2 separate regions of the Homo sapiens genome follow, and region 1 is linked to region 2. The links are contacts of gene promoters, found by promoter capture Hi-C in human tissues and cell types (Jung and others, 2019). All regions are on one chromosome and are shown on one strand. The core of a region is centred on a gene start or on the middle of the fragment in contact, and the rest is flanking DNA. Distances in the headings are between cores, read along the strand shown. Region 1 overlaps UVRAG (UV radiation resistance associated). Region 2 holds the start of RPS3 (ribosomal protein S3).

Region 1 (4,605 bases), core at 292-2,791, 450 kb before region 2:
AACTAAATCTAAAGGAAAACCCCAACTTTCCATGCCTAAATAACAAAAGGACCAAAGGCTACACCCTTTGCAAACTCCCCATTCTGGCTGGGTGCTTTCCATAACCAATCAGATGCTTGCATAGGAGTGTAACTTTGTAACTTCAGCCTCTGATTGGCTGCTTTCTGCAACCAATCAGACTGATTGCAGGCCACCACTTCATTTGCATGGTGTGAACACCAAGTGGCCAATGGGAAACCTCTGGGGGTATGTGGGTCCTAGAAGATTCTGTAAGGGGGCTCTCCAGGGGCTGCAAGGCCCACTCCCACCTTGCTGAATGTACTTTCATTCTCAATAAATCTCTGCTTTCATTGCTTCACTCTTTGCTTGCTTTGCTGTTAATTTTGTCCAATTCTTTGTTCAAAACACCTAGAACCTGGAGAACTTTCAGTCAAGACCCGCTACCAGTAACAAAATTAGTTGCTCCCTTATTAGGACAAGTAAGAACTTTGCTTCTATCTCTACTATAGCACTTATTTTGTTCGGCCTTTATTATAGTTAATTGTTTACCGTTATCTTCCCTATTAATCTAGCATTAAAAGGCTTGATAGAAACCACAACCATCACTGTACTGTCAGCATTTATTAAATGTTTACCTTGTGTCATGTACTGTGCTAAATATGTGCTTCATACATGTGAACATTTAATTCTCATAACAACCCTACAAGGTTAACTATTACTCATTATCATTAATTTTTTTTTTTTTTTGAGATGGAGTCTCGCTCTGTCGCCCAGGCTGGAGTGCAGTGGCGCAATCTCGGCTCTCTGCAAGCTCCGCCTCCCAGGTTCATGCCATTCTCCTGCCTCAGCCTCCCAAGTAGCTGGGACTACAGGCACCCGGCTAATTTTTTTGTATTTTTAGTAGAGAGGGGGTTTCACTGTGTTAGCCAGGATGGTCTCAATCTTCTGACCTCGTGATCCGCCCGCCTTGGCCTCCCAAAGTGCTGGGATTACAGGTGTGAGCCACCACCCGCCCGTCCATCATTATTCATTTCTTTATCTCAACATTTTTTTTTTCTTTTGAGAGGGAGTCTCGCTCTGTCTCGCCCAGGCTGGAGTGCAATGGCGCCATGTCGGCTCACTGCAGCCTCCGCATCCTGGGTTCAAGTGATTCTCCTGTCTCACGCTCCCAAGTAGCTGCGACTACAGGCATGTGCCACCACACTTGGCTAATTTTGTATTTTTAGTAAAGACAGGGTTTCACCATGTTGGCCAGGCTGGTCTCGAACTCCTGACCTCAGGTGATCGACCTGCCTCAGCTCCCCAAAGTGCTGAGATTACAGTTGTGAGCCACCACACCCAGCCTAGTCTTACATTTCTAAGTAACCAAATATAAAACAAAGAAAATAATAAATGACAGGAGATATCTCAAAAGAAGGAAAGAATGCAGAAAGAAAGCCAAGGATTACATCCTATATACGTGGATATGTATCTCCATCTAAATACTACATATACCTAAAAGATATAATTTGTCTTCATACTCCTTTATTACTACAGAACACAAGGAAATAACCAATTCTTCAACTCAAAAGAATAACTTTATGACACATGCAATTACCATGGAATTGACTGCCTTACAAAGCAGTGTGCAGGGCTTGGACGGAGATCGAATCTATAATAGATGCATGGATATTATTATCAAAGAGATCTCTGCATTATGTAGCAACTGTGGGAAATTAGCACGACCACCTCCAAGATACCTTCTGATTCTAAACTCTATGATTTTCATCTGGGTGATTACCAGTGTAATCCATTAATGCGAATAAACAGAACAAACCACATTCAGACCATTTTATAAAAAGGTTTACAAAAAACAAACTCCATAAACTGACCAACTATAATTAAAGCACTGACTGTGGGCTGTATGACTTTTTGCCCTTTTCCTTTATTTTACTTATTTCAAAAGCATTAGGGTAAGTATTCTCATTATACCATAATTAATTAAAATCCAAGATACTTCCAGCAACTGGAATGGACAAAGGAAAGAAACTTTTTTTTTTTTTTTGAGACAGGGTCTCTCTCTGTCCCCCAGGCTGGAGTACAGTGGTAGATCGTAGCTCACTGCAGCCTCAACCTCCCAGGCTCAAGCAATCCTCCCACCTCAGTCTCCCAAGTAGCTGGGACCACAGGCATATGCCACCATGCCCAGCTAAATTTTTTTTTTTTTTTTTAGAGACAGAGTCTCCCTATGTTGCCCGTGCTAATAAATCCTTTTTTCTTTTTTTTTTTTTTGAGACACAGTCTCACTCTGTTGCCAGGCTGGAGTGCAGTGGTGCGATCTCGGCTCACTGCAATCTCCGCCTCCCGGGTTCAAGCATTTCCCCAGCCTCAGCCTCCTGAGTAGCTGGGACTGTAGGCGCATACCACCACACCCAGCTAATTTTTTGTATTTTAGTGGAGACGGGGTTTCACCATGTTGGCCAGGATGGTCTCGATCTCCTGACCTCGTGATCCGCCCACCTCAGCCTCCCAAAAGTGCTGGGATTACAGGCGTGAGCCACCGTGCCCAGTCGCTAATAAACTCTTTATGGGTAAATTACTGATGCAATCTTGGTAAAAGGCAGTAAGTGTACATGTAAACCCTCTTGTGCCCTAGGTCTGGCCTTCTTTTTTAATAACGTTCATTCCAGAGCCAGGCACAGTGGCTCATAACTGTAATCCCAGCACTTTGGGAGGCCAAAGCAAGAGGATCACTTGAGCCCAGGAGTTCAAGATCAGCCTAGGCAACAACATAGTGAGACCCTATCTCTAGAAAAAATAAAAATAAATTAGCTGGGCTGGGCACAGTGGCTCATACCTGTAATACTAGCACTTTGGGAGGCCGAGGCGGGTGGATCATTTGAGGTCAAGAGTTCAAGACCAGCCTGGCCAATATGGTGAAACCCGTCTCTACTAAAGATACAAAAGTTAGCCAGGCGTGGTGGCACACACCTGTAATCTCAGCTACTTGACAGGCTGAGGCAGGAGACTCACTTGAACCCCGGAGTTGGACGTTGCAGTAAGCCGAGATCACGCCACTGCACTCCAGCCTGGGTAACAGAATGAGTGAGACTCCATCTCAAGAAAACAAAAGAACAGGCCAGGCACGGTGGCCCATACCTGTAATCCCAGCATTTTGGGAGGCCGAGGTGGGTGGATCACCTGAGGTCAGGAGTTCGAGAGTAGCCTGGCTAACATGGCAAAACCCCATCTCTACTAAAAATACAAAAAATTAGCCGGGCGTGGTGGCACACACCTGTAATCACAGCTACTCAGGAGGCTAAGGCAGGAGAATCGCCTGAACAAGGGAGGCAGAGGTTGCAGTGAGCTGAGATCATGTCACTGCACTATAGCCTATGCGACAGAGCAAGACTCCGTCTCAAAAAAAAAAAATGAAAGAACAAAGTCAGAGAACTGACATTACTATAAAGCTACAGTAATCAAGGCAGGATGGTATTGGCAAAAGAAGAGACAAACAGACGAGAACAGAATAGAGAGCCTAGAAATACACTTACACAAATACAGTCAACTATTCTTTGATAAAGGCTCAAACACAATTCAAAGACAACAGCCAAGTCTTTTCAACAAATGGTGCTGAAAGTGGACATTCACATGCAAAAAAAAAAAAATGAATGTAGACACAGATTTATACTTTTCACAAAAATTAACTTAAAATGAATCGGAGACCTCAGTGAAAATGCAAAACTATAAAAGTCCTAGAAGATAACATAGGAAAAAATTTTGGTGATCTTGGGTTTGTGAGGACTTTCTAGATACAACACCAAAGGCATAATTCATAAAAGATGAAACTGATAAATGGGACTTAATTAAAATTTAAAACTTGGTTTTTCTTAGGCTTTGCAATGGTTCTGAGTGGTCTGAAACCCTTACCTGATTCTGATGCCCACCCACCAGATGGAGAACACAGCGCACTTCACATCTAAGAACTTGTCTAATGACTGAAACGCGGTAAGTCTTAATAACACTTTTAGCCTATTGGAAATCCTCAAGGCTCATCCTTCAACTGCTCTCGAGTATAAGGTCTAGTGGTACTTCACATCCTAGAGGCACCATCTAGCATAAATATCAATGCTTTGATCTTTTCTAAACAGAATTACTGGTCTGTTTAGAATTAATGGTCCAGCTACAGATATTTAAGCCAAACATTTTTATGATCTAAATCGGTTCAAATATCTCAGGAAAGTAAAAACATTCGGAGTAATTAAAATGTAAATTTACACAAAAAAATTAAAATTTACACAAACTTTGGAATCACTCTTTAAGATAACATTCTATGCAGTTTTCTTTTTCTTTCATGTCTGTGACATAACTTCCTAAGATCTGCTAACTTTTTTTTTTTGGGCAACCTTTAGGCTCAAGAGGTACATATACAGGTTTTGTTATATGGGTAAACTGCATGTCTCAGGGTTTGGGGTACAGATAATTTTCTCACCCAGGTAATCAGCATAATGCCCAATAGCTAGTTTTTAAATCCTCACCCTCTTCCCATGCTCCACCCCTCAAATAGGCCCCAGTATCTACTGTTCCCTTCTTTGTGTCCATGTGTACTTATAAAGGAGAACATGA
Region 2 (4,945 bases), core at 136-2,635:
TCAAAAAAATAAATAAATAAATAAACCAACTTAGCATTTATAACAATTATAGGTGATGGCCAGTCAAATGAGTTTTACCTGGTGGCTAAGATAATGATTTCTGTCCTGGTTGGTGTAACTCGCACCTCAACTCCAGAGTAGCCATCTTCAGCCAGCTCCCGAGTAAGAAACTCATTCAGTTCAGCTTTGAAGATGCCATCAGCGACAAACTAATCCAAACAAAGCAAAGTTCAAAATTAGGAGATCGGTGTAGGCTCACTTTCGCCTGAGCCAGTCTAGTCTTATTAGTCAATGCATCCCTCACCAAAACTAAATACCTCCAACCAATGGTTCCAAACCCTTGTTCCAACAGGAGTGCAGCAACCCTTCTCAGACAAATGCCTCTAAGTCATCTTTAGGAAATTACTTCAACCAGGGCTCTTTAAACTGTGCCACAGAACGCAGCACAGAGTAGGCCACCTGGGCAAAGAGAACATCCCCAAGTCAGACTCGTCATCATCTCTTCATCGAAGGGTTTAAAACAGTTCCACATGCAAAACAAGAAACTGCTCTAATGGCCTATTTACACTTCATTCAGCACAGCAAAGACACTGTACTTGTCACTGTTAAGGAATAGATAGTAGACTTAACATATAAGCTCTCTCACTTGTAGACACAACCTGCACCGTCTAAAGAATCCCAGCCATGTTATTTGGCTTTACGGTACCAACAGAGCTGGCAAATCCTAACTCTCGAGAAGTTGTGGATTTAATTTTGACATCGAAGTGTATATACGAAATGACAAACTGTCTATTTTTAAAGCTAATGATTTTTACACAGTTCTATCCCATGTAATGACAAGGCGTTAAATCCGAGGCAGCTTCCTCCCGGGGTCCCCAGACGGAGCAAGCAACCGTCAGCAACCCTTCAAGTTGAGGTCCTGGGGCCAGCGGACTGTACCCAGAAACGACCAGTTAAGGCAAGAATACACTGCTGCCTTCTCTTCCCAAAACCACGGGATAAGACATGAGGGAAATGACACACGCCCTCAAAATACCACGTTTACTAATTCCGTTGACCGACAAATGCTCACAAACGCCTTCTCCGGGACAGAAGGGGCGCCTGGTGCCCATCTCTCTGCGCTTCACTTGGAACCCGGCCACACAGCGCCCTCCTGGCTGGGGCCTCTCACTCAATCCACCGCCATCCGCGGCCCGCAGGAACGCCAGGAAGCCTAGGCCGCTTCCAGGGCAGGCCACGGAGCTGCAGGCCTCGCGGTGGCACCCCGAGAAGCCCTCGACCCGCGCGGCGCCGTCGTTCTCCGAACCCAGTCCCCAGAGGCTCACCTTCCTCTTCTTGGATATTTGCACTGCCATCTTGCCGCCGCGCTCCGCTGAAAGGAAAGGAAGTGGCTCGCGGGCGGAAGTGAGTATAAAGGGCGCGAGCGACGACGGAGGGCTGCGCTGCGTGCACGCCTGTGGGTGCTCATGGGAAATGTAGTTTTTACGTAAGTAAGGCGTCCAGGGAAAGAAGAATGTAGGCAGGAACAGGAAAGGGGCTTCATCCAGCAGGACTTCTAAACTTCAGGGGACCTTAGAGTTCAATTCTCATAGTTTCAAAACAAGCAATGTGAGGTGCAGAGGTGGAAATTACAGGTATAAGTTCACACAGCAAGAGAGATTAACCAGCGTGGAACTCTGGCCCCTACACTTTCAGGGTGGACACTGTAATGAAAATCTGCTGAAATCCCTCAGTGAAACTCATTTAAGACTCCTCTTTGGGAGGCCAAGGCGGGCGGATTACTTGAGGTCAGGAGTTCGAGATTAGCCTGGCGAACATGGTGAAACCCCGTCTCTACTAAAAATAGAAAAATTAGCTGGGAGTGGTGTCGGGCACCTGTAATCCCAGCTACTCGGGAGGCTGAGGTGGGAGGATTGCTTGGACCTGGGAGATGGAGGTTGCAGTGGGCCAAGATCCTACCACTGCACTCTAGCCTGGACCACAGAGTGAGACTCTGTCTCAAACAAACAAACAAACAAACAAACAAAACAACTCATGTCCCCCAGTCTGTACCCATTTCCTCCATTCCAAATGATAATAATAAAACCTGATACTTACTAAGTGTCCTAGGGACTGCGTTCTGTGTCCTTTATGTTGTTCTCATTTACCCCACCTTACTTTCATCAAGTCCATTACAATTTGTAACAGAAGTCCCAGAAGGTCCCATGGGCCCGCCCTTCCTTCCTTCCTTCCTTCCTTCCTCTCTCTTTCTCTCTCTCTTTCTCTCCTTTCTTTCTTTTCTCTCCGGTTGCCCAAGCTGGAGTGCAGTAGTACGATCTCAGCTCCCTGCAACCTCCACTTCCCAGGTTCAAGTGATTCTTCTGCCTTGGCCTCCTGAGTAGCTGGGATTACAGGTGCACACCACCACACCCAGCTAATTTTTGTATTTTTAGTAGAGATGAAGTTTCACTATGTTGGCCAGGCTGGTCTTGAACTCCTGACCTCAAGTGATCCACCTGCCTTAGCCTCCCAGAGTGCTGGGATTACAGGCATGAGCCACCGTGCCTGGCCTTCTTTTTCAATTAAAAAAAATTCTAGCCAGGTGCAGTGGCTCAGGCCTGTAATCTTAGCACTTTGGGAGGCCAAGGCAAGTGGATAGCTTGAGGCCAGAAGTTTGAGACCAGTCTGGGCAACAGAATGAGACACCCTCATCTCTATGAAAAGTGAAAAAAGAAAATTATCCAGGTGTGGTGGTGTGTGCCTGTAGTCCCAGCTACTCTGGAGGGAGATGTGAGAGGATTGCTTGAGTACAGGAGGTCTAGGCTGCAGTGAGCCGTGATTGTGCCACTGCACTCAGCCCGGGCAACAGAGTGAGACTCAGTCTAAAAAAAATAAAAAATTAAAAATGTCCCTTCATTTTTTAATGAAGCTTACAGAACAGTTGAAAAAACTGTACGTGTATGCATCACCAAGCTGAGGGGGAATTGAGAATGATGCTACAATTAATATTTTGCTGTTGCTTTATCGTGGATCTACTCATCCCTGTAGCCACCCACCAATACATCTTTTGAGGCATTTCAAAGTAAGTTGCAGACATTGGTAAACTTTACCCCTAAACACTTCAATAACAGTTTTATTTTATTTATTTATTTATTTTTGAGACGAAGTCTTACTCTGTTGCCTAAGCTGGAGTGCAGTGGTGCGATCGCCGCTCACCGTAACCTCCACCTCCCGGGTTCAAGCGATTCTCCTGCCTCAGCCTCCTGAGTAGCTGGGACTACAGGCAAGCACCGCCATGTCCAGCTAATTTTCATATTTTTAGTAGAGATAGGGTTTCACTATGTTGGCCAGGCTTGTCTTGAACTCCTAACCTTGTGATCCGCCCACCTCGGCCTCCAAAAGTGCTGGGATTACAGGCGTGAGCCACCGCACCCAGCCAACAGTTTTATTTTAAGTTTGAATAGTTTTCTTCATTTAAAAGTCAGGGTATTTCTCTCTAAAACTATTTTAGGTTTTTCTTAAGGATATAGAAATATCTAGCAAAATAGTGAACCCACATTTCTTCATGGGCAGTGCTCTCCTTTCCTGTTACACAAAAAGAGTCTTTCCAAGGTGCCACACTCCCTGGCAGCACCACTCAGTTATTTTCTGGTCCTAGAAGCCATTGGAGTGTTTAACTCCAGCTCTAAAACAACTCTGATGTAAAGTGACCTGTCCTATAATCACGGAATTAACAGAGTTCTGTGGTTGCTGAGCAGAGGGACCAGGGAAGATGACAAAAAGTGGATGGGCGCGGTGGCTCATGCCTGTAATCCCAGCACTTTGGGAGGCCGAGGCAGGTGGATCACCTGAGGTCGTGAGTTTGAGACCAGCCTGGCCAGCATAGTGAAACCCCATCTCTACTAAAAATACAAAAATTAGCCTAGTGTGGTGGTGCACGCCTGTAATCCCAGCTACTTGGGAGGCTGAGGCATGAGAGTCACTTGAACCCGAGAGGTGGAATTGCAGTAAGCCATGGTCAAAGCCACTGCCCTCCAGTCTGGGTGACAGAGCGAGACCCCGTCTCAAAGAAAAAAAAAGAAAAGAAAGGAAAAGAAGTGGATGAACCAAAGAACCAAAGAGATGGTAGCTGTGGATCTATCTTTTTTTTTTTTTTTGAGACAAAGTTTCCCTTTGTTGTCCAGGCTAGAGTGCAGTAGCGCAATCTCGGCTCACTGCAACCTCTGCCTCCTGGGTTCAAGCGATTCTCCTGCCTCAACCTCCCGAGTAGCTGGGATTACAGGCATGCACCACCACTGGCTAATTTTTGTGTTTTTAGTAGAGACAGGGTCTCACCATGTTGGCCAGGCTGGTCTCGAACTCCTGACCTCAGATGATCCACCCACCTCGGCCTCCCAAAGTGCTGGGATTACAGGCGTGAAGCACTGTGCCCAGCAGAAGCCCTAGTTTCTGACTTCAGTTGTGAATGCTTGGCGACAATCCTTACCAAGATGAGGAACCTAGGAATAAGTTGTTTTTCTTCCCCCCCCCACCCCCCATCCATCTGTTATCTCTCTCTGCTCTTCATGTGCCTCTTCATCCAACTCCTTGGTCTGTCTATAGAGTGGGGCCAGGTTGCTGAAAACATGAGCCTGGTAAATCCACCTGCCTATGGATTCACTAGAGATGTGGGCGCTGAGGGAGAGCACCTGGCCTTGCGTGCTGGGATCAGAGTAAAATCACAGCAGGCTCCTAGACCCTCTCAGTGAATCGCTTCTATTTTTCATTCCCATATGCCTCACATTCTCCCACGGTCCCTATTATAATCTTTGACAAAGCTAGAACCCCAGAACCTCCTCCTCACTTTCAATAGTCAACCTCCCTCCTAGTCCCTTGCCCCCCTAATAGATTGCACAACCAGAAACTGCCTCCCGCCCATCCTATAATCCCATGTGTCCCTGGCTATCCTTTCCTCCTTCCTTCCTGG

The links. The method cuts DNA at HindIII sites, captures the fragments that hold promoters and counts their contacts. A contact is called where the count stands out against the background at its distance.
Region 1: a contact is called between a fragment that was not itself captured here and the fragment with the promoter of RPS3 in region 2, in 1 of the 25 tissues and cell types used here (spleen).

The regions. Positions count from the first base shown.
Region 1 is chr11:75,845,636-75,850,240 of GRCh38, reverse strand. All of the region lies in intron 1 of UVRAG (UV radiation resistance associated), which reads right to left. Among named protein-coding and RNA genes, the nearest start is that of UVRAG, 33 kb to the right of the region's middle. The HindIII fragment of the contact is 5,005 bases long and covers 1-4,043 here.
Region 2 is chr11:75,395,958-75,400,902 of GRCh38, reverse strand. RPS3 (ribosomal protein S3) reads right to left here and starts at 1,385. Exons shown (of 7, transcript NM_001005.5): 1 at 1,326-1,385; 2 at 79-209. The coding sequence starts at 1,355. SNORD15A (small nucleolar RNA, C/D box 15A) reads right to left here and starts at 512; the gene lies at 365-512. RefSeq lists enhancers at 1-822, 1,049-1,408. The HindIII fragment of the contact is 8,937 bases long and covers 1-4,945 here.